Regions from separate parts of the Homo sapiens genome. Here regions 1, 2 and 3 are each linked to region 4. The links are contacts of gene promoters, found by promoter capture Hi-C in blood cells and fetal thymus (Javierre and others, 2016). All regions are on one chromosome and are shown on one strand. The core of a region is centred on a gene start or on the middle of the fragment in contact, and the rest is flanking DNA. Distances in the headings are between cores, read along the strand shown.

Evidence for each region. The method cuts DNA at HindIII sites, captures the fragments that hold promoters and counts their contacts. A CHiCAGO score of 5 or more calls a contact.
Region 1: a contact is called between the fragment with the promoter of GAPDHS here and the fragment with the promoter of FFAR3 in region 4, in 17 of 17 cell types (M1 macrophages, M0 macrophages, M2 macrophages and 14 more). The highest score is 17.2, in M1 macrophages.
Region 2: the fragment with the promoter of HPN-AS1 here is called in contact with the fragment with the promoter of FFAR3 in region 4 in 10 of 17 cell types (naive CD8 T cells, naive B cells, total B cells and 7 more); the score reaches 12.2 in naive CD8 T cells.
Region 3: the fragment with the promoter of HAUS5 here is called in contact with the fragment with the promoter of FFAR3 in region 4 in 9 of 17 cell types (M0 macrophages, M1 macrophages, naive B cells and 6 more); the score reaches 10.0 in M0 macrophages.

The regions. Positions count from the first base shown.
Region 1 is chr19:35,531,699-35,535,924 of GRCh38, forward strand. It overlaps GAPDHS (glyceraldehyde-3-phosphate dehydrogenase, spermatogenic), which reads left to right and starts at 1,758. Exons shown (of 11, transcript NM_014364.5): 1 at 1,758-1,896. The coding sequence starts at 1,830. RefSeq lists an enhancer at 2,615-2,744. The HindIII fragment of the contact is 5,250 bases long and covers 1-3,645 here.
Region 2 is chr19:35,104,396-35,108,714 of GRCh38, forward strand. It overlaps HPN-AS1 (HPN antisense RNA 1), which reads right to left and starts at 1,909. Exons shown (of 4, transcript NR_024562.1): 1 at 1,834-1,909. It overlaps LOC124904701 (hepatitis A virus cellular receptor 1-like), which reads left to right. Exons shown (of 3, transcript XR_007067238.1): 2 at 104-2,441. The HindIII fragment of the contact is 15,680 bases long and covers 1-4,319 here.
Region 3 is chr19:35,610,389-35,614,550 of GRCh38, forward strand. It overlaps HAUS5 (HAUS augmin like complex subunit 5), which reads left to right and starts at 2,347. Exons shown (of 19, transcript NM_015302.2): 1 at 2,347-2,504; 2 at 3,342-3,404; 3 at 3,480-3,512; 4 at 3,647-3,671. The coding sequence starts at 2,407. It overlaps HAUS5-DT (HAUS5 divergent transcript), which reads right to left and starts at 2,276. Exons shown (of 2, transcript NR_186318.1): 1 at 2,230-2,276. RefSeq lists enhancers at 2,081-2,636, 2,225-2,484. The HindIII fragment of the contact is 7,658 bases long and covers 1-4,162 here.
Region 4 is chr19:35,355,952-35,359,859 of GRCh38, forward strand. FFAR3 (free fatty acid receptor 3) reads left to right here and starts at 2,509. Exons shown (of 2, transcript NM_005304.5): 1 at 2,509-2,698; 2 at 2,929-3,908. The coding sequence starts at 2,940. RefSeq lists an enhancer at 3,830-3,908. The HindIII fragment of the contact is 8,969 bases long and covers 1-3,908 here.

The sequences.
Region 1 (4,226 bases), core at 508-3,007, 170 kb after region 4:
AAGCTACAAGGAAAAGAATGGGTGCTGCGAGAAGATATAACGTGAAGAGTTTGATAAGATTGGCGATCAGGGCCGGGCGAGGTGGTTCACGCCTGTAATCCCACCACTTTGGGAGGCCGAGGCAGATGGATCACCTGAGGTCAGGAGTTTGAGATCAGCCTGGCCAACATGGTGAAACCCCGTCTCTACTAAAAATACAAAAACAAAAAAAAAATTAGCTAGGTGTAGTGGCGCACGCCTGTAGTCCCAGCTACTCAGGAGGCTGAGGCGGGAGAATCACTTGAACCCAGGAGGCGGAGGTTGCGGTGAGCTGAGATCGCACCATTGCACTCCAGCCTAGGCAACAAGAGCGAAACTCTGTCTCAAAAAAAAGAAAAGAAAAGAAAAGATTAGCGATCAGATGAAACCTGAGGAATTGACATTTATTCATTCAGGTATAGTTTATTGGGCTAACGCCTTTTTCAGACAGGGTCTTGCTCTGTCTCCCAGCTGGAGTGCAGTGACACAATCACAGCTCACTGCAGCCTTGACCTCCTAGGCTCAAGTGATCCTCCCACCTCAGCCTCCCTAATAATTGGGACAACAGGCATGCACCACCACACCTGGCTACTTTTTTTATTTTTTGTAGATACAGGGTTTTGCCACATTGCCCATGTTGGTCTCAAACTCCTGGACTCAAATGATCCTCCCACCTCAGCCTCCCAAAGTGTTGGGATTACAGGCATGAGCCACTGCGTCCAGCCCACAAACACCTTTCAGGTGCCAAACACTTTTCTTGTCAATGGGATACAGAAGTGACATAGATGACGTCCCTGTCCTCTCAGAGCTTACAGTCTGGTGGACAGAGACAGTTGGCAAGAAAACAAACAATTTTTAGAGAGACATGTGCTCTAAGGAAAATAAAAACATAGACAGTGTAGCCCTAGAGAAATTTTGCACACTGAAGCATAACTCAGAATGGAGAAGTCAGACAAGGCTTCCTGGAAGATGGGCAGAAATTGGGAAGGGGGTGACGGCTGACAGTGACAGAGAAAGGAGGGAACTTAGATGCAGAGTGTAGAAAGCCTCTCTTAAAGGGTGGGAAACCAAGAGGCAGCCAAGGGAAGCCCTGGGTGGGCCTTCCAGGCATACGGAGGCAGCAAGAGTCACTCCACTGGAGAATCCAAGGGACAGCATGGAACCTGTGTGCTTCAAGAGACAGAGAAGAGGAAAGGGCTTTCAGGAACAGTGTAAAAGGTGGGATTCCAGGCTGGGTGTGGTGGCTCGCTCCTGTAATCCCAGCATTTTGGAAGGCCGAGGTGGGAGGATCGCTTGAGCCCAAGGGTTCTAGACCAGCCTGAGCAAAAGAGTGAGACCCTCTCTCTACAAAAAAATAAAAAGTAAAAATAGCCTGCAGTGGTGGCTGCACATGTAGTCCCAGCTACTCAGGAGGCCGAGGCGGGAGGATCGCTTGAGCCCAGGAGTTCAAGGCTGCAGTGAGCCATGATTGCACCACTGCACTCCAGCCTAGGAGAAAGAGTGACACCCCGTCTCAAAATAAATAAACAAATGATAATTTTAAAAAGTGGGATTCCATTCCAGACGGCAGTGCGTGGCCGTGGAACGGTGATGCATAGCGTGCTGACGTCCCATGCCTCTACGGGGATGGGATGCGATGGTGTCAGGCCTCTGGCTTGGGCGCCGCCCCTCGGCGACGTCACTGGGTACTGTGACGTCACTGGGTGCTGTGACATCAGGGCAATTAGCCCAGGACCCACAGCCCTGGCGCTCCGCACGCACCTCGGTAACATCACAGCAGGTCCAGGCCAATGATAACCTTATAAGAGGCCATGTCGAAGCGCGACATCGTCCTCACCAATGTCACCGTTGTCCAGTTGCTGCGACAGCCGTGCCCGGGTGAGGGAGGCAGCGGAGGGCGCGGGGGAGGGGTGGAAAGGGTAGTGGGGAGCGTCTGCACCCTCACACCTGTGCCGTATCCCTACCGCCCTTCCTGGCGTGTGCACCATCTAGGGACCAGGGGATCAGCCGCTCTCCCTCCCTCCACACCCGCCAGTGTGCTGGCAGAGTGGGGTTTACTGCCATGGCGGGGAGACCGGGCCTCCGCCCCCAGGGCTGGGTGGGCTTCGCGCCGCTATCACGCGGTAGAAAGAGCAGAAACGAGGGCCATCGGAGGCTGCAGCCTGAAAGTGGCGGGAAGTGGGCGGGCTTAGGAGGGGCTTAGGGAGAACCCAGGGGTGCTGGGCTTCCATGTAAAAGTGATGTTCATGGCGCTTCGCGTGAGGTGAGCTTTGCCCTCCCTGTGATGCACAAAACAAGGACACTTGGAACCTTGCCGGGGACGTGCTGACCACTTCGCAGGCGAGAGCTCAGGGAAGCCTCACCACCACCTGAGAAGGCCAGAGTGTGCCCGCAGTTTACAGAGCGGCCAACAGAGGTTAAGAGAGGGCAAACTACTTCCTTAGTCTCTCAACAAGGGCGGCGCGCCCGCGCGCGCGCACACACACACACACACACTCACTCACTCACTCTAGCCGGAGGAACCAGGTCTTCCGGTGGGCTGCCTCCATTCCCACACTGTTCCCTCACTTCCCAAGGGCGGGGGCCGCAGGGGTAGGTGGGGCTGGGGCTTTGGTCCAGGAGACCCTGGAAGACACAGGAGCAGACAGGCTTACCAGCCTCATGAGACTTGAACCCCTGCCCTGCGCATCACTGCTCCGTGGCCTCAGGCTTCATTTTCCCCTCTGTAAAGTGGGTTTATAGCGCATGCCTCTCGGGATTCAGTGGGAGGACGCAGTGAGGAGCTGGGGGCAGCACCCAGCTAGCCCCCAGGCTTTTCTCCAACCGGGGGACCCCACCCCTACAGTGGAGGGGAAGAGAGTGCAAGGCTGGGAGTGCTGGGAGAGGAGGACCATCTGAGTTTTCTTCGGAAGGGTCACCCATTGGGCTCAGATTCCCACCTGAACCAGGTGGACAAATCCCCTTTCTCCCATAGCAGAAACAACCCCCAAGGATGCAAACATCCTCAAGTTCACCAATAAACACTAACACCTTCATGAACTTGGACAGCCACTGGAAACACCTATAGTCCAGCCTCAGGCCACAAGGTCTGTGGCAACAGGGAGAGGTCAGGGAGACAGACAGGCCAGCTGGCCCCCGGCTCCCAGCCCCACCACCCCCCAGGTGCCTTTGATTTGGTGCCAAAAACTTGGACTCCCACTACCCCCTTCCAGCCCTTCTCCACCCCCTGCTGTCTCCCTTTCCTCAGGAATCTGTGTAGGATCAGACTTCCCTCCTCTATTAAAATCAGCTCCTATGTGTGGGCCTCGAGATCTCACTGCGCCCTCACAGCAGCCCCTAGGTGGGGGATCAGCCCCAAGAGGTTCATTAACTTGCTCAAATCCACAGAGCAGCAGGTCTGTGTGGACTGAGCCAGGCTTGACTTTCCAGCTTGAAACTCTCTGCCACCAGGTCCCCTGAGTCTCCACTTCTCCCCTCTTCTCAAGCCCTCCTCTGTAGCTCAGGCGGCTGCTACCTCCAGGCGCAGGTGTTTTTAAGTGCAGTCTGGGAGCAGGAGTGTGTGTGGAGAGGTGGGAGCCAATGTGAGCTTCCATGGGTTTCACAGAGTATGATACACGGTACTCTCTAAGCTTCCCTGAGGATAAGAAATGCCTGGAGTGCTTATTTTATTTTTTATTTTTTTTTGGGAGATGGAGTTTCGCTCTTGTTGCCCAGGCTGGAGTGCAGTGGCACGATCTCGCCCACCACAACCTCCGCCTCCTGGGTTCAAGCGATTCTCCTGCTTCAGCCTCCTGAGTAGCTGGGATTACAAGCATGTGCCACCACGCCTGGCTAATTTTTTTGTATTTTTAGTAGAGACGGGGTTTCTGCATGTTGGTCAGACTGGTCTCAAACTCCCAACCTCAGGTGATCTGCCTGCCTCGGCCTCCCAAAGTGCTGGGATTACAGGCGTGAGCCACCGCTCCCGGCCTGGAGTGCTGATTAAAAACAGGATTTCTGGGCCTCCATACAGACCCACTGAGTCCGATTTTTCTAGGAAGAGCCCTCCTCAGGTGATTTTTTTTTTTTTTTGAGACAGAGTCTCACTCTGTCGCCCAGGCTGGAGTGCAGTGGCGCAATCTCGGCTCACTGCACCCTCCGCCTCCCAGGTTCAAGAGATTCTCTTGCCTCAGCCCCCCGAGGAGCTGGGATTACAGTATTTTTAGTAG
Region 2 (4,319 bases), core at 659-3,158, 250 kb before region 4:
TGCTATGTGCAGAGTGGATCTCAGCAGTGGCAGGAGCAGGGGCCCAGGAGGGGCAGGTGTCTGGACGTGGTTGCCCGACGTAGCCTGGGTGTCTGTGTTCCAGGTGAACGGCTCCCAGGCTGGCCTGCCCCTGACTCTGGCTGGGGGGCACACTCCAGGCCTTCTTCACGCCCTTGGCCATCACAGTCCAGGTGGCACCCGGCCTCTCCATGACCTTTCACGAATCCCATGCCCTCTGAGTGGCAGTGCCTGAGACCTACACCAACACCCTCTGTGGCCTGGGCGGGGACTTCAGCGTGGATACCCAGGATGACTTCAGCGGCTCTGATAGCACATGGCTCTCTGATGCCAACAGCTTAATGGGGGCCCAGCCCCTCTGTGCCCACCAGACAAGGCAGCCCTATACCAGGCCTTCTGTGGCTTGCTGGGCACCCAAGATGGGCCCTACAGGGCCTGCAGTAAGGACGTGGATCCCCAGGTGCATGTGGAGAACTGCATCCATGACCTCTGTGCCACGGGGGGCTCAAGAGAGACTCTGTGTGCCATACTGGGGAGCTACGCCCAGGAAAGCCAGCAGCGCAGCGTTCCCATGCAGCCCTGGAGACACCTCTTGGCCTGCAGTAAGTGGGTATTCCCAGGGAGGGTCTTTCTCAGCCTGACCTCCCCAGCTGGCCCAATACCACTTCCAGGATGTCCTCCTAGGTCAACACCACCCAAAGTGACCCACTGCATGCCTTTCTGGCTAACTGTTCCCGCGAAGAACCTACCTGCTTAAAACTCTGCAATAACAATAACAGATGACACTGAGTGCTATTGCATCAGTCAGGATGGTCTGGGTTATGCTGAAGTAACGAACTAACCTGAACATGACCCAGCATGACCAAGGTTGTTTCTTCATCACTATCTTCGTCACCTTTGTCATCATCACAGTCACTATCATCATTACCGTCACCATCACCACCACCACCAGCGTCACCATCACCACCACCACCAGCCTCACCACCACCACCACCACCAGCATTACCATCATCACCACCACCACCATCACCACAAGCATTACCATCATCACTACCACCACCATCATTGTTACCACAACCACAACCATCACCACCATCACCATCATCATTGTTACCACAGCCACAGCCATCATCACCACTACCATCACCACCATCATCACCATCACCACCATCACCATCATCATCACCACCACCACCACCATCAACATCATCATCACCATCATAACCATCACCACCAGCATCACCATCACCACCAGCATCAGCATCACCATCACTACTATAATCACCATCACCATTATCACTACCACCACCATCATTGTTACCACAACCACAACTATTGTCATCACCACCACCACCACCCTCACCACTATCATCACTGTCACCATCACCGCTATCATTACCATCACCATCAACACCATCACATCACCAACAACATCACCAGCCCTACCACCATCATCATCATTACTATCACCACGACCACCACCACCACCATTATCACCACCATGATCACGCCACCAGCATTATCACCACCGTGACCACGCCGCCACCGTTAATCACCGCCGTGACCACGCCGCCACCGTTATCACCGCCGTGACCACGCCGCCACCGTTATCACCGCCGTGACCACGCCGCCACCGTTATCACCGCCGTGACCACGCCGCCACCATTATGCTACATCCTGATGATGCCTCCACCTCCCCTCCTTTGCCTTTATGACTTACCCTTGGCCCCCACAACCCTCTCTCCGCTCCCTTGGTCCTATTCTGGTTGGAAATGCTCCAGAATAGTAATGCTTGCTCAATTATTTAACTCCTACCTGTTTTCTTCCAGAGCTGGCCTGTCCTCCCCGCAGCAATTACGAGCTCTGCGGCTCCTCCTGTCCTAGCTCTTGTGCCGAGCCTGCCCTGCCCGACAGCTGCCTGACACCATGCCAGGATGGCTGCCAGTGTGACCCAGGCTTTGTGCTCAGTGGCATGGACTGCGTGCCCCCAATCCAGTGCAGCTGCTCCATGGGGGGCAGGTACCACCACCCGGCTGGGGAGGCCTTCTGGACTGGGGAGCGCTGTGAGCAATTCTGCCACTGCCAGGCCTCCACCCACGCCGTGTGCTGCTCCCCGTCCTCCTGTGGGCCGGGGCAGAGATGTGAGACCCTCAGGGGCATCTTTGGGTGCCACCCACTCTCCCCTGGCATTTATCAAGCAACCATGCACTCACACGTCGCCTCCTTTGACCGGAAGAGTGTTGAGTTTCCAGGCACTTGCGCTTCTGCTTTTACCAAGTCCTGTGGCTCCTCCAGCTCATTGCGCCTTTTCAAGGTGGAAATTGGGAAGGAGAAACAAGTCCAGCAGTCCCATTGTGTTCATTTCAAAGATGTAGGTTCATGGGACCCAGGTTTGTCTGCAGAGAGAGCCCCGACCTGATGAGGTAAGCACTCATTGGCATCTAGAGACTCTTGAACCGATTGAAGCTAAAAGAAATACATTGGCTCAAACTAAGTAAAAATCATGTGATAGCCTAGTGAAAGTGTAGAGATTCTGGGTCCACAGAAGTTCCCTATATACCACTTTGGCTGTTTTGGTTACAGAAAGCCTCATAAAAGGTAACTCAAACCAGTCACAGACTGTGTTTTATGATTTTTAGACTAATTACATAACTGAAAATTCCAGAGGGAGATCAGGCATGGTTTGATCAGGGTGCTAACTCAGTTTTTCAGCATTTCTCTTGGTCTGTGTTTCTCTATAGCATTAGCTTTGTCCTCAGGCTGGCTTTTCTTGTGATGGCAAAATAACTGCCAATTTTCCAGTCATTAAATGTGTATTCCCCATTGTCCAAAACCCGAATCTTTTCTTACCCCAAGTACTCAACAAAAATTCCAATGCTTCACTTTGATTAAACCCCACTGAGCCAATCAGTGCAGCCCAGAGGTTTTCTTAAGCCTATCTAATCCTACTCAGGAGTTGTAGGTGGGAGAGATCCTGCCCCTACCCCCCATCTCTGGCAGCTACTTCTTGCAGGGAGAGAGGGCAAAATGGGAATCCACCCCTGTGTCCCTATGTCCCCCGAAACCAGTATTTCTTCTTAACAATCTTCAAAGAGTGTAAATGCCCTGGTAAACCTCCACTCTGAGACCTGAAACTTTTGTCTAGAACCCACAGGGGTGGATGTGTTTTCTAGGCCCGAGGGCCCCTGCCTACAAGAGTTCCATTGTTGGCTATTGGAAAACACACAGCCACACCCCTCCCACTCCACCCCCTTCCAGGAAGGGAACCAGCTTTCAGAATTAGTCATGCTGTCAGCGTCCCACACAACGAGCCCATTGACTCCAAAGGGCAGCACAGCAGATGGACTGCTATTATCCCAGTGGTACAGATGGGGAAACTGAGGCCCGGGAAGGCAGACTTGCTTGCCTAATGTCGCATAAGGAGAAAGTGGCTGTGCTAGGATTGGAACCCAGGCTGTCAGGTTCTGAGCCCTTCCCTTTCTGTCTGTGGGCCTACTGTGTGCTCCCAAAAAGCTGTGGCCAAATTAAGGAGGTGGCATGTCTGATTCATCTGTGGCGGGGCCTGGGATATATAGTAACTCTCAACAATGGTGTTCATTAGTCCGGGCATGGAGGCTCACGCCTGTAATTCCAGCACTTTGGGAGGCCGAGGCGAGTGGATCACCTGAGGTCAGGAGTTCGAGACCAGCCTGGCCAACATGGAGAAACCCCATCTCTACTAAAAATACAAAAAAATTGCACTTTAGGAGGCTGAGGCGGGCAGATCACCTGAGGTAGGGAGTTCGAGACCAGCCTGGCCAACATGGAGAAACCCCGTCTCTACTAAAAATACAAAATTAGCCAGGCGTGGTAGTGCATGCCTGTAATCCCAGCTACTCGGGAGGCCGAGGCAGGAGAATCACCTGAACCCGGGAGGCGGAGATTGCAGTGAGCTGAGATAACGCCATTGCACTCCAGCCTGGGCAACAAGAGCGAAATTCCGTCTCAAAAAAAAAAAAAAAAAAAAGAATGGCGTTCATTCATCCACTCATTAAAAACTTCCTGAGCACCTACTATGTGCCAGACCCTGGGCTCAGTGCTGGGGAAACAGCAGTGGGTGGAACGGTCAAGATCTCTCCATCGTGGTGGAGCTGAGATTCCAGAGGAGAGAGAGACAATAGGCCTCACCAGTATGAATTATATAGTTTGTCAGGAGGCCGTATGCGTTCGTGTCAGGGAAGAACATACAGAACAGGATGGGGAGGGGCGGTGGTGGCTTCCAGATGGAAAAGATGGTTTTAAATTGAGAAGCCAAGGAAAGC
Region 3 (4,162 bases), core at 1,097-3,596, 250 kb after region 4:
CATTTACCTAAATTGGCCCATCCTTGTCTGGTAGGTCAGCACCCAGCAGAGGCTTCTCCCCATGCACAGCACTGTGAGGTTCAGGCACCTGGGCACAGTAACCACAGTGATTCCTGGAAGCTGGTGGGCATGCTATCCTGGGGCCATCTGAACTGGGAAAAGCTGTGTGAGTTCTTGGGGGCCAGCTTGTAGCCTTTTTGGCTGGGGCCAGGTTGAAGGTCTTCCTGGGAACCAGAGTCAAGAGCGGCCACTTACATTAAGCGGATAAAGCCCACGACTTTCTTGAGCTGCTTGACAGCTGTACCAAAAAGGCACAAACCCATTGAGGATATTATGAAACATGAATACAGATGATTATTTTATTTTGGTTTGGTTTTGTTTTGGCTTTGAGACAGGGTCACCCAGGCTGGAGTGCAGTGGTGCCATCATAGCTCACTGAAGCCTCAACCTCCCAGGCTCAACTGATCCTCCTGTTTCAACCCCCCAAGTAGATGGGACTACAAGCGTGCACCACCACGCCTGGCTAATTTTTTTTAATTTTTAATAGAGACAAGGTTTTGCTGTGGTGCCCAGGTGGGTCTCAAATTCCTAGCCTCAAACATTCCTCCCACCTCAACCGCCCGAAGTGCTGGGATTACAGGCATGAGCCACCACGCCCAGCCATTGCCTTATAATTTTTTACTGATGTCAGATATTGTTAATTTTACAGTGTTGGATGCTGGATTTTTTTTAATCTCTATAAATATTCTTGAATTTTGTTCTGGAATGCAGCTAAATAATAGCTTGATCCTTTCGGGCCTTGCTTTTAAGCATGGTTGGTTAGTCAGCATCAGAGAAGTATTTCATCTAGGGCAGGGGCAGGGGTCTCCAAACCCCAAGCCGTGAACCAATACAAGTCCATGGCCTGTTAGAAACCAGGCTGCACAGCAGGAGGTGAGTGGCGTATGGGTGAGCATCACTGCCTGAGCTCCACCTCCTGCCAGATCAGGAGCGGCATTAGATTCTTACAGGAGCGCAAACCCTATTGTGAACTGTGCATACGAAGGATCTAGATTGCGCACTCCTTATGAGAATCTAATGCTTAGGCGGGGCATGGTGGCTCACACCTGTAATGCTAGCACTTTGGGAGGCTGAGATGGGCTGATCACTTAAGGTCAGGAGTTCAAGACCAGCCTGGCCAACATGGTGAAACCCCGTCTCTACTAAAAATACAAAAATTAGCTGGGCATGGTAGCGGGCGCCTGTAATCCCAGCTACTCAGGAGGCTGAGGCAGTAGAATCGCTTGAACCCCGGAGGCAAAGATTGCGCTGAGCCGAGATCGGGCCACTGCACTCCAGCCTGGGTGAAAGAGGGAGACTTCACCTCAAAAAAAAAAACAGGGAAGAAAAAAAAAAAGAGAGAGAGAGACAGAGAATATAATGCCTCACGACCTGAAGTGGAACAGTTTCATCCCGAAACCATCCACTGCTCCCACCCTCCATCCCCCAGACTGTGGAAAAATTGTCTTCCATGAAACCAGTCCCTGATGCTCAAAAGGTTGGGGACTGCTGGTCTAGCGCAGACCTCTCACACCTGCTGTGTCCCAAATTGACCCACCCCTGCTGCTTATTTTTACCACCCCTACCTGGTGGTGCGTCTGTCTCCCCACTCAACTGTGAGCTCCGTACAATAGGGACCAGGGCTGTTGTGGTCACCATGGTGTCCCCAGCATCACCCAGCACAGGGTCAGCTCCCTGAGTTTATGGAATGGTAAGCACGAATGAATGGGAAAACGCATGCCAGGGAAATGTTAGGGTCATGCTCTCTGCCCCTACCCTCCACTCAGACATGAGACACCTGTTTCTGAAATCAAAGAGCAGTAAGTCCAGGATCTCATTGCCTGGTTCCAGTCCTCCTAGGACGCAAGTCCCATTTTGTCAAGAAAATAAAGGGGGTGAGCGTGGTGGCTCACGCCTGTAATCCCAACATTTTGGGAGGCCGAGGCGGGAGGATCGCTTGAGCCCAGGAGTTCAAGAGCCCAGAAGCTGAGACTAGCCTGGGCAACAAGTGAGATCCCATCTCTATTAAAATAAAAGTGTTTAGTTAAAAGAAGAAAAAGAAAATAAATGGAAGCATCAAGGACTGTTTTGCCTCTTTCGGGTTAGCTGGTAGTGAGCGGGAGAACGAGGGAAGGCGGGCGGGGCTGCAGTCTCTCCACGCCCTTTTCATTTCCACTCAAGGAGACCTACCTGGGAAGAGTGAGCGCTGCAAGACCCAGCCTGACCGCGCTAAGATTACTATGCAGCGCCCGAGCCCGCTGTCTGCCCGGCAACCGATGACGTCACTGTTGGCGCGCCCGTGACGTCAGAGGCGGGCGCCACACTTGAAGAGGCTGAGGGAGGCGGTGTCGCCGCCGCGGCGCTGTCATGGAGCTAGCGCAGGAAGCGCGGGAACTGGGTTGCTGGGCGGTCGAAGAGATGGGGGTGCCCGTGGCGGCCCGGGCCCCGGAATCGACGCTGCGCAGGTGAGGACCGCTCCTGGAGTGAGGACACCCCACCCTGGAGATTGAGTCTCCGGGAGTGAGAACTCCACCCCTCATTGAGGACTCGACTCCCCCCAATTCCCCATCGAGAGTGACCCGACTTACTGAGGGCTCCCTACCCTGGGAGGCTCCCCAGAGTGAGGTCCCTAGCACTGGTGAGGATCCTCCACGAGTTAGCTAAGACCTCGCTCCTTATGGAAATAGGATCTCCAGAGTGAGGCTGTCCCCGCAGCACCTCCCCTCCCTCCCTTAACCTAACCAAGAAGGACACTCAGGAGTTAGCCGTGGCCACCCCATCGGGGATTGAAGCTGTAGGAGTGATGCCCCACGTCTGGTCATGAGATGGCACTTCCTGGCAGTACATCCCCCACCTCCACCTCTGGATGTGACTGGGATAACCCACTCCCAGGAGAAAGGGAGCACCCGCCTCTCCCGCGCTCCCCCACCACCCGCCTTCCCAGGGAATGAGAATAACACCACACTTAGTGCAAACATCCAGTCCCTACAAAAAAAATGTTTTACCAATTAGCCGGGTGTAGTGGTGCCTGCCTGTAGTCCTAGCTACTCTGGAGGCTGAGGTGGGAGGATCGCATGAGCCCAGGAGGTTGAGGCTGCAAGGAGCTATGATCGTACCACTGCGACAGAGCGAGACTGTCTCTTAAAAAAAAAAAAAAAAAAAAGGCAAAAAAAAGTTTGGGCCTTCCCTCCTCAAGAAGTGAGAACTCCCTAGTAAAAACTCCCTACCACCATCACCCTAGGAATGAGGATCCCACACCCTGTGTGCTGCCCCAGGCATATGCTTACACACTGTCCCCACAGGCTGTGTCTGGGCCAGGGGGCTGACATCTGGGCCTACATCTTGCAGCATGTGCACAGTCAGAGGTAAGCTGGGCTAGAGCAGGGGAGGGGGCACAGGTGAGGCCCATAGTAACTCCTCTTTCTGCCTCTGCACTGTAGGACTGTCAAGAAGATCCGGGGAAACCTACTCTGGTAACTGCTTCTTAAAGCTATCCCCTCCTGTCTTCCCCACTCCCATTTAGCCCTGTCCCCACCACAGCATCACACCTATTGCCCTCCCCCCTAGAAGCCCCACTCATCCGCTGACTCTGGCCTCGTTTTCCTAGGTATGGCCACCAGGACAGTCCACAGGTGAGAAGCATATGCTACAAGATTCTCTTTCATCCGAAAAATGACTTGTAGATCTTCTGCTCTAAGCCCAACCAGGTGCTGGGTGATGCTGGGGACAATGGGTCACAAGACAGCCTTGATCTCCATCCTCATAGGGCTTAAAGTCCAGTGGAAACAGCATTAGCTCAGCCAGGTGCAGTGGCTCACACCTGTAATCCCAGCACTTTGGGAGGCTCACCTGAGGCCTCATCTCAGGTGATGAGATCACCTGAGGGCTCCAGGAAGCGATCAGTACTGGGACAAAGATGTGGTTTGGGAGGCGGATCACCTGAGGTCAGGAGTTCGAGACCAGCCTGGCCAACACGGTGAAGCCCTGTCTCTAATAAAAATAAAAAATTAGCCAGGCGTGGTGGCACACGCCTGTAATCCTAGCTACTTGGGAGGCTGAGGCAGGAGAATCGCTTGAACCTGGGAGGCAGAGGTTGCAGTGAGCTGAGATCGCACTACTGCAC
Region 4 (3,908 bases), core at 1,259-3,758:
GGGAGCCCCAGTGCCTCCTCCCGCATCACAGGGTGCCAGGGCCCACTCTCTTTGACTCCTGCTCCATAGCCCCTGCTGGGTACTGGGCTGCTTCTCCCAGTTCCTCCTGCCTCCCCCCACTTAGGGCAAATCCAGTGCCTCCCTGGGGCCCAGGAGACTCAGTGTGATCCACCCCAGGCGCCTCTCACTCCTGTGAGACCCAAACCTCCTATCAGCTCCCCCAGCAGGCCAAGTCTGTGCACCCGTGACTCCCCTGCCCCAATGTTCCCTCCAGTGGCTCTTTGCCTCTTCAGTATCCACGTCTTCATGATCCTTCCCCTACTCCATCCCCCAAGCCCTCACCACCAAATGTAATGTAAACAGCATGACAGCAAAAACTTTTTGTTCACAACTGCGTGTTGTTTTTTTTTTTTTTTTTTTTTTTTAGACACAGTCTCACTCTGTTGCTCAGGATGGAGTGCAGTGACACAGTCATGGCTCACTGCAGCCTTGAATTCCTGGGCTCAAGCGATTCTTCCATTTCAGCTTCCCAAGTAGCTGGGACCAGAGGCACATGCCACTAAACCCAGCTAATTTCTTTTTTCTTTCTCTCTTTTTTTTTTTTTTTTCCCCTGTGGACATAGGGTCTCCTCATGTTGCCCAGGCTAGTCTCAAACAACCTGTGCTCAAGCAATCCTCCCACCTCAGCCTGCCAAAGTGCTAAAATTACGGACCTGAGCCACCGTACCCAGCCTACTGCTGCACTTTTAACAGCTTAATTGAGATATTATGTACATATCATCAAATTCACCAATGTTAAGTGTACAATTCAATGATTTTTAGTAAATTTACTGAGGTGTGAGTCCATTACCATCAGCTAGTTTTAGAACATTTTCATGACCCTAGTAAAGGATTTTACTTCATGTTCATTTAAACTTAATCTTGGGCCAGGCGGGGTGGCTCACGCCTATAATCTCAGCATTTTGGGAGGCTGGGGTGGACGGATCACCTGAGGTCAGTAGTTCGAGACCAGCCTGGCCAACATGGCGAAACCTCATCTCTACTAAACATACAAAAATTAGCCAGGCGTGGTGGCGGGCACCTGTAATCCTAGCTACTTAGGAAGCTGAGGCATGAGAATTTCTTGAACCCGGGAGGCAGAGTTTGCAGTGAGCCAAGATTGCACCATTGCACTCCAGCCTGGGCGACAACAAGACCCTGTCTCAAAAAAAAAAAAAAAAAAAAAAAAACAACTTAATCTTCATTTCTACCTCCATCCCCCAGACAACCACGAGTCTACTTTCTGACTCTATAACTTTGCCTATTCTGGACATATCATATAAATAAATGAAATCTGACAATATATGTACATGGTCTTTTACGTCTGGCTTGTTTCACTCAACATAAGGCTGTAGTGTGTATGGGTAGCTCATTCCTTTTCTTTGCCAAATAGAATTCCAGTATATGGATGTGCCACTTTTTTATTCACTCACCAGCTGATGGGCTGCCAGGTAACATTTCCACTGTTGGTGACTATGACCAACACTGCTGTGAACATTTAGGACTGAGTCTTTAAGTAGACCTGAGTTTCCACTTCTCTTAAGTAAATACCTACGGTGGAATTGTTGGATCGCATGGTGAATTTATGTTTAACTTTTTAAGCAACTGCCACCTGCTTTCCAAAGCAGGGACACCACCTCCCATTATTCTCACCAGCAGTGAATGAGGCCCCTATCTCTCTACATTCTCGCCGACCATAGGCATTGTCTGACTTTTTGCTTGTGGCCATTCTAGTGGATGTGAAATCATATCTCATTGTGCCCTGTGATTGTTTGAATGAACTAATAGATCACCTGTGAAACTGGACAGCACTTGGGTTTGAACCCTAGTGGTGACATTTCACAAGCTGTATCACCTGGAGCAAGTCACTTCCCTACGGTGAAGGACAAGGATTTTATGACATAAAAGCGTTGCCCTAGAAGCAGTGTCTGCTATGGATTATGTGCCCATGAAAAGGCAGCTGCTGTCATCATCGCCACCACCATTATTATTGTTATTATTATTACATTGTCACCCCAGAGATAATCCTGCACCAGTGACAGGGAAAATAGCAGCTGGCATCCGCTGCCTGCTCACGACCACACGCCAGGCTTCCGTCAAACCACTCAACATGTATTAGTAATCTTTTAATCGACCTACATATTGTTTTAATTTGCATGTGTTAATGCGTTGATCTATGAGATGGGTATTATGATGAGCTCTGTTCTGCAGGGGAGAAAGCAGAAACATGGAGAATTTAAGTCATTTCCCCCAAATCACAAAGTCAGGAAGAAACAGACCTCACGGAGCTCGCTCTCTGTCATTGCATCACACTTCCTGCCCTTACAAGGCAAATTGGATAAATGCCATTCTAGAGAAGCAGACAAAATTCAAGTGAAGAAGGGGAGAGGAAGACGTCGGCTGGGGCCTGCTTAGAGCATCCCAGCTGAGACTGCATGAGGAGGGAGGCACGCAGTTGTGGAATTTGTTCCCCTTTTAGCATGCTGACCAGCCCTGGCAACGGAGCTCAAGGCATCTATGTGCCACTGCTCAACAGTGAGTGACGTCATGGGCACGGCCAGGTCTTTATCAGTTCTGCCGGATAAATAGCCAACTGCACTAGGTCTGGAGAGACAGCAAGGTGCTGTGCGGCAGAGCATTTGGGGTCTCAAAGAAGCAGGTGAGCCTGGGCCCGAGGGGCTGGGTGGAGGAGCACCTTGGTGCTTCTCTGCTGGGGAAGGGACAGGGGACAGGGCATGCTCAGGAAGACAGGCAGGCTGACCCCGCCTGGAAGGCACCCAGAGACAAGAGGGGTGGGCGTAGTGACCTCGTGCCCTTTTAGGGGAGATGCTGCTGGCCAGAGGCCGTTAGGGCCCCCACTACCAACTCCATGTTACTCTCTCTCACCAGTGGCCACCACCATGGATACAGGCCCCGACCAGTCCTACTTCTCCGGCAATCACTGGTTCGTCTTCTCGGTGTACCTTCTCACTTTCCTGGTGGGGCTCCCCCTCAACCTGCTGGCCCTGGTGGTCTTCGTGGGCAAGCTGCAGCGCCGCCCGGTGGCCGTGGACGTGCTCCTGCTCAACCTGACCGCCTCGGACCTGCTCCTGCTGCTGTTCCTGCCTTTCCGCATGGTGGAGGCAGCCAATGGCATGCACTGGCCCCTGCCCTTCATCCTCTGCCCACTCTCTGGATTCATCTTCTTCACCACCATCTATCTCACCGCCCTCTTCCTGGCAGCTGTGAGCATTGAACGCTTCCTGAGTGTGGCCCACCCACTGTGGTACAAGACCCGGCCGAGGCTGGGGCAGGCAGGTCTGGTGAGTGTGGCCTGCTGGCTGTTGGCCTCTGCTCACTGCAGCGTGGTCTACGTCATAGAATTCTCAGGGGACATCTCCCACAGCCAGGGCACCAATGGGACCTGCTACCTGGAGTTCCGGAAGGACCAGCTAGCCATCCTCCTGCCCGTGCGGCTGGAGATGGCTGTGGTCCTCTTTGTGGTCCCGCTGATCATCACCAGCTACTGCTACAGCCGCCTGGTGTGGATCCTCGGCAGAGGGGGCAGCCACCGCCGGCAGAGGAGGGTGGCGGGGCTGTTGGCGGCCACGCTGCTCAACTTCCTTGTCTGCTTTGGGCCCTACAACGTGTCCCATGTCGTGGGCTATATCTGCGGTGAAAGCCCGGCGTGGAGGATCTACGTGACGCTTCTCAGCACCCTGAACTCCTGTGTCGACCCCTTTGTCTACTACTTCTCCTCCTCCGGGTTCCAAGCCGACTTTCATGAGCTGCTGAGGAGGTTGTGTGGGCTCTGGGGCCAGTGGCAGCAGGAGAGCAGCATGGAGCTGAAGGAGCAGAAGGGAGGGGAGGAGCAGAGAGCGGACCGACCA